2 separate regions of the Homo sapiens genome follow, and region 1 is linked to region 2. Evidence: promoter capture Hi-C in human tissues and cell types (Jung and others, 2019). All regions are on one chromosome and are shown on one strand. The core of a region is centred on a gene start or on the middle of the fragment in contact, and the rest is flanking DNA. Distances in the headings are between cores, read along the strand shown.

Evidence for each region. Contacts are between HindIII fragments. The study calls those that stand out against the background at their distance.
Region 1: a contact is called between a fragment that was not itself captured here and the fragment with the promoter of PEX11A in region 2, in 2 of the 25 tissues and cell types used here (IMR-90 fibroblasts and mesenchymal stem cells).

Annotation. Positions count from the first base shown.
Region 1 is chr15:89,871,064-89,874,350 of GRCh38, forward strand. ARPIN-AP3S2 (ARPIN-AP3S2 readthrough) reads right to left here. Exons shown (of 10, transcript NM_001199058.2): 8 at 412-483. AP3S2 (adaptor related protein complex 3 subunit sigma 2) reads right to left here. Exons shown (of 6, transcript NM_005829.5): 4 at 412-483. Among named protein-coding and RNA genes, the nearest start is that of MIR5009, 11 kb to the right of the region's middle. The HindIII fragment of the contact is 7,631 bases long and covers 1-3,287 here.
Region 2 is chr15:89,688,884-89,692,095 of GRCh38, forward strand. It overlaps PEX11A (peroxisomal biogenesis factor 11 alpha), which reads right to left and starts at 1,871. Exons shown (of 3, transcript NM_003847.3): 1 at 1,694-1,871. The coding sequence starts at 1,749. WDR93 (WD repeat domain 93) reads left to right here and starts at 1,928. Exons shown (of 17, transcript NM_020212.2): 1 at 1,928-1,974. RefSeq lists an enhancer at 1,706-1,795. The HindIII fragment of the contact is 14,807 bases long and covers 76-3,212 here.

The sequences.
Region 1 (3,287 bases), core at 145-2,644, 180 kb after region 2:
TAAATTTTACTATCTAAGTCAAAGCCCCTGCGTCATGATTATTCCAAAGTTTCATTGTCACTGGCCTATGACTAGGAAACTAATTTTATAATCAGCATAAAACTATTTATCTCACCTTTGGCCAAGTAGCCAGTGACATCATTCTCCTATATCAAGAAATCAGTCTGTGAACAGATGAACCACGATATAGGCCTAGTAATAATCTTATGCACGTTAAAACTGTTAGTAGATCTTAGCAAAAACAAAACAAAACCCAAACTATTAAATCTATTAAATAAAACATGTTCTAGGACTATCTTAAGAGTAAAAAAAAACAAGAAACAATATGAAGATGTAGAGGTGGCTACAGATGCCCAAGGCTCTTGGTTTTCTAGTAACCCTAGTTTGGAAGAGAACTGCAAGAGAATATACCTTATCCATATGGAAGATCAAATCCAATTCACACACATTTTCGAAACACTTATCCAGAGTTTCCACAAAAACCTAGAAAACAAGGAGAAATAGATAAAGAAGAGAAATAGGAACACATTCACAGCTTTATCAATGTCACATCTGAAAGTAAAAGGGGCTGTCACAATACTATTTACTTTATGATAAATCTCAAAAATTAAAACACCTACCTTTTGTCTCCAGCATTAGCTGATCACCCTACTTATCTCGATTTAGAGGGAATAATCTAGGACAGGAAAACCTTGTTTTCAGCATAGCAACACAACCAGCAGACACATGTGGCTCTTTCCCCCTTTATAAGATGCTAATTTATGGTAGGGCATGGTGGCTCATACTTACAATCTCAGCACTTTGAGAGCCCAAGGCAGGAGGATCACTTGAGGCCAAGAGCTCACGACCAGCCTTGCTAACAAGACGAAAACCCATCTCTACTAAAAATACAAAAATTATCTGGGTGTGGCGACACGAGCCTGTTATAGTCCCAGCTACTTGGGAGGCTGAGGCACGAGAATAGCTTGAATGAGAATCATTTGAGGTGGAGGTTGCCATAAGCAGAGATCGCACCACTGCACTCCAGCCTGAGTGACAGAGTGAGAGTCTCTCAAAAAAAAAAAAAGAAAAAAGAAAAAAAATTACATAAAAGAATAACAAATTAAAAAAACCAACTACTTACAATACTATGTCCTCAATGAATACATGTACAAAAAATTTTTCATTATTACAGGGTTAACATAGCTGTGTTTTAATTTCAGCCAAAATTAACTTCAAAACATCTTCCCTTTTTAATTTTTTTGGTCAGTTATTTAGCCTACAAAATACCTTCCTATGAATAAATTTAATTGACGTGTTTACAACTTAAAATTTTTTTTTAAAAGCCCTGAGCTTACTTCTCTATAGAACCTTTTAACTTTTAATAAAACATAACAGAAAAGTGTACAAATGACAAGGGCACAGTTTAATGAATTTTCAGAATGAACACACCATGTAACTACAACCTAGGTATCTATCTATAACTGTTTAATTTCTCTCAGACAATGACCTCATTTAAACAATCTCATTGTCAGCAGTGTCATGAATTGTTCGGCACTGCATGAAAATGGGTCTTACTTGAGGCCAGCAAGTGACAGAGACCAGGCACACCGTTCCACTGTAGCACAAGATGGGTGCTCATAGGCAAACCACCCTGCAGCGGCTGCTGGGGAGACAGACCCACTTGCCATGAGGAACCAACGCACACTATTGGAGCTGATCCTGCTCTGTCTCTTCTCTATGTAAGTAAAGCTTTATCCAGTGTTTGCACTTTTTCCTTGCCGACTCTGATACCAAGATGCAATGGGCAAGAGCATTTAGATTCCTTTCTTGAGACTGGTAACCAGTGCACTGTATTTTGCCAGATACCAACCATTTTGGAAAACTATGACATTATGTATGCATGCTCTATGATCTAGGAATTCTACTCCCAGATAACATATCTAACAGATATATACATGTATGCCAAAAACCACATACAATAATTTCATATTAGTGCCATTCATAAATCTTTACATTTTTAACAGTGCCAGAATATTTCACTATAAGGACACATAGTTAAATGGGTCTATTTCTCAATCACTATGCTGGGTACTTGGTAAGCCCTTATAATCCTGCAGTTCAAGTCCTTCAGTTCTGGGAAATTTTATCGAATTATTTTGTTGAGAATTCCCTCCTTTCCACATTCCTAATCAATCTTTTTGGAGCTGCTTATATTCAAGTATTGGACCTCTGTCTGTCTTCTTTTTTTTTTTTTTTTGAGACAGACTCTCGCTCTGTTGTCCACGCTGAAGTGCAGTGCCACGATCTTGGCTCACTGCAGCCTCTGCCTCCTGGGTTCAAGCAATTCTCCTGCCTCAGCCTCCTGAGTAGCTGGGATTACAGGCATGCACCACCACGCCTGGCTAATTTTTGTATTTTTAGTAGAGACGAGGTTTCACCATGTTGGCCAGGCTGATATCCAATTCCTGACCTTAAGTGATCCCCCTGTCTTGGCCTACCAAAGTGCTGGGGTTACAGACGTGAGCCACTGTGCCCGGCCTCTGTCTTATTTTCTCATCTTTTCTCTCCCATTTTCCATCTCTGCCCATTCTGAGACAATTGATTAACTTGATTTTCTAATACTTCAGTTGAAGTGGGTTTTTGTTTGTTTCCATTTCCTCTCATTTTTTATTTCTAAGAGACCATTTTGTTCATTTTGTGTGAGCAACAAGGCTGTGAGTGTTTTTGTTTAGCACCCATTTAGCAATAAGACATAAATGGGTCTTATTTTATTTCTAATTAATAAATGGGTCTTATTATTATTTAAAATAAATGTCTTATTTCTCTGTGGCTTTTTTTTTTTTTTTTTTTTTTGAGACAAGGTCTCACTCTGTCACCCAGGCTGGAGTGCTGTGGTGTGATCTCAGAACACTGCAGCCTCAGCCTCCCGGGTGCAGGTGATTCTCCTGCCTCAGCCTCCTGAGCAGCTGGGACTACAGGTATGTGCCACCATGCCTGGCTAAAATACTTCGTATTTTTAGTAGAGATAGGGTTTCACCATGTTGGCCAGGCTTTCTCTGTAGCTTAAGAATAGGGTTTTGGGTTTTTTTTTTTTTTAAACTGTTTTCCTTTCTTTATATGGTGTCCATTTTTAAGTTGCTTTTTATTGTTTGTTCATTTTATCTCCTTCTTCTATGTTAGAGGTTTTCCGCAGATGTCTGATAATCCTTTGTTTTTCATTTGTTACAAGAATAAAAGGCTGATTGAAAGCTCTACAATCATGGATATTTCTTGCCCACCTCCATGGTTATTTGCTTCCCTAGCGA
Region 2 (3,212 bases), core at 621-3,120:
TTTTGTATTTTTAGTAGAGACAGGGTTTCACCATGTTAGCCAGGATGGTCTCGATCTCCTGACTTTGTGATCCGCCCACCTCAGCCTCCCAAAGTGCTGGGATTACAGGTGTAAGCCACTGCACCCGGCCTAAATGATTATTTTTTTAACCAACTTCCTTGATAAACCCTGCAGGGTACATTCTAGGTACACTGGAATTACAGGTTTCTATTTAATGAAATTTCTATTTAATGAAGCTTGTATATAAAGTAACCATTTAAAAAACCTATCAAACTAATGAGAAAGCCAGTATAGCTTGGTAGTTAAGTGGGCACTGGAGTCATTTGCGTGGATGTGAATCCCTCAGTTCTGCCATTGTAGTACCTATTAACCTCTTTCTGCTTCAGTTTCTCCATCTGAAGTGGGTAAAATATTTAGAGTATCTACCTCATAGGGTTGTGATGAGGGTTATATAAGTTCATAGTTGCAAAACACTGGGAACAATAGCTGTCATAAAGATGGCTTCCAAAAGCCTCATTATTGGGGCCATTCTAATTGATCTGTTTGTATCAGCACTTGCACACCCAGAAGAGAATGCAGAGCTGTTAAATAAAACTGCAACTGTAAATATTTTTTCATTAAGCAAGAATCAACCAAATCTCTAAAACATCATGAACTAGTACTGTATTCGTATTAAAGATACAATCTCTCAGTTCTTTTCGTTTCTTATGGAACCAAAAGAAAAAGAGACACAATCTCTGTTTAATATTTTCAGTAGCACAGCATGAACCTTAGAGGTGCAGTTAGTTCTTTCTGAGCTTCTCCCCACTGTATTTCCCCCCAATCCAGTTGGTGTGGTCTCATCCCCGCTATATTTTGTTTTACAATTTACAAAACTATTCCACATGCAGTATCTCAATGATACAGCCTGGGTAATAATGGAAGAGAACTTCTGTCTCTCCTCAAACATTTCAAGAGGTATTTGAGACCGGGCGCGGTGGCTCGCACCTGTAATCCCAGCACTTTGGGAAGCCGAGGTGGACAGATCACCTGAGGTCAGGAGTTCGAGACCAGCCTGGCCAACATGGCGAAACCCCCGTCTCTACTAAAAATACAAAAAGTAGCCGGGCGTGGTAGTGCACGCCTGTAATCCCAGCTACTCAGGAGGCTGAGGCAGGAGAATCGCTTGAACCCGGGAGGCAGAGGTTGCAGTGGGCCGAGACCGCGCCACTGCCTGGGCGACAGAGCGAGACTCCGTCTCAAAAGAAAAAAAAAAGAGAGATATTTGAAGTCACACCAAGTGGTTTGCTTCCCTAGCCACAAATACTAATCCAAAGTTTCTCTTTAAAGGAGATCCCTCGGAAGAATGTTGAGTGGAGAGAACCAATCTTTCTGTGCCCGGAGAGCAAAGTTAGGAGGGGAGGAGGATCTGTCAGCCGGTGTCCCGTCGTCGGCGGTCTCGAGGCGGCTAGGGTGCCAGGCACTGGGGCTTTCGTGCACGGGGCTAGGACGGGACGCGGGTGCGTTGGGCCCACTCACGTTGAATTTAGGGTAAGGAGGGGCTCGGATACTAAACTCCCTCCGTAGGAGCTGGCAACGTCCTTCCTGCTTCCATCTACTAGGCTATCACCTCCTTTTTCCCGGGTGCAGGGGAATAGGCACGGGAGCCGAGTTAGGGCGAGAAAGGGGCGGAGGCCGCTGGCACCTGACTCACCTGAAGAGTCGGTCCCGGCCCTGGGTCTGGTTGGTGAAGCGGGTGAAGGCGTCCATGGCTTCTAGCCCAAAGGCCACGAGTCGCACGGGGCTCAGGCGTGGGTCCTCTGGGGCCCGTCGGATCCCCAGGGAACGGTCAGTCCCAGGTTATCCGCTGAGGGGGAGGGGCTGAGTCTCTCCGCCCCAGAGGGGGCGGGCACACTTTCTGTAGAGCAACTTCGCGGACTTCCGGTTCAAGCCGGAAGTTGTGGTTACCAAGGCGACGCAACGCCGCCCGGCCAGGTGAGCAAAACTGATCTTACCTTTGGATGCCGGGGCTCCCCTCGAGTCCCAGGACTCCCCTTTACCTGTAGAGTCTCCTAGAGGAAAGTCTGAGGGGGTCCGTCTCCCCAGACTCGGGCGTTTCCGGATGCCTGACGCCTCCCCGCAGATCTCAGGTTCTCAGGAACCCGGGGTGATATCCCGAATGGTCTCTCCAGCCTCAGAACTCCCCTGAGCTCTTGCTTGGGACGGTGGGGCCTAATCATTTCCCAGCGCCGTGCCTCTTTCCCTTGAGCTACACCAGCTCTATGTCTGGTGAAGGAAGTGGTTAGGTCAGAGATAAGCCAATTTCACAGTGTGAACCTAGCATGGGAGGCGGATGAAGTGAGAAAATGTTCTGCTTGGATTATTGAACATTGAAAGAAGATTGTTACCTGAGGAAATCCTAAAAGAGTCATTATGAGCAAAGTGAAGCAAAAATAGATTGCAATGAAATTGCACCGCTGAACATTCGTTCTGTGCGGCTTGAAGAAAAGGAGCCTTACCCACTCCGTGGCAGTAATTTTATAAAATGTACCCTCTATAACCACAAAATAAGGTCGGCCGGTGCTGTGGCTTACGCCTGTAATCCCAACACTTTGGGAGCCGAGGTGGGCGGATCACCTGCGATCAGGAGTTGGAGACCAGCCTGGCCAACAGGGTGAAACCCCGTCTCTACTAAAAATACAAAAAAAGTAGCCGGGCGTGGTGGTGGGCGCCTGTAATCCCAGCTACTCGGGAGGCTGAGGCAGGAGAATCGCTGGAACCCAGGAGGCGGAGGTGGCAGTGAGCCGAGATTGTGCCACTGCTTTCCAGCCTGGGCGACAGAGCGAGACGCTGTCTCAAAAAAATAAAATAAAATAAAATAAGGTGAACATTTTCGTAATCTTTATTCCCTTGGTCAGGCCAGCTCCTAACATTTGCAGGCCCTGGGTAAGAGTACAAATGGAGTCCAGCACACCGTATGTTTAAATATTTTAGTTATAAATCAAGCAACAAATTGTAAAGTAAAATATAGTCTGTTTTCCTACATTGACAAATAGACCCTCATAATGATGTAGAAGGCCAGGTTCATCTTCAGAATCCCTAGACTCCTTAGAATACCTGGAAACACAGCTGGAATATGGCAGTGTGGGGAGAAATGGCTCCCAGTCTTTTCCCACTTCCCTTTCTTTTCTGGTTTCTGGTGCCCACCTGCATTCCCTGCCAGGAGCCTTGTA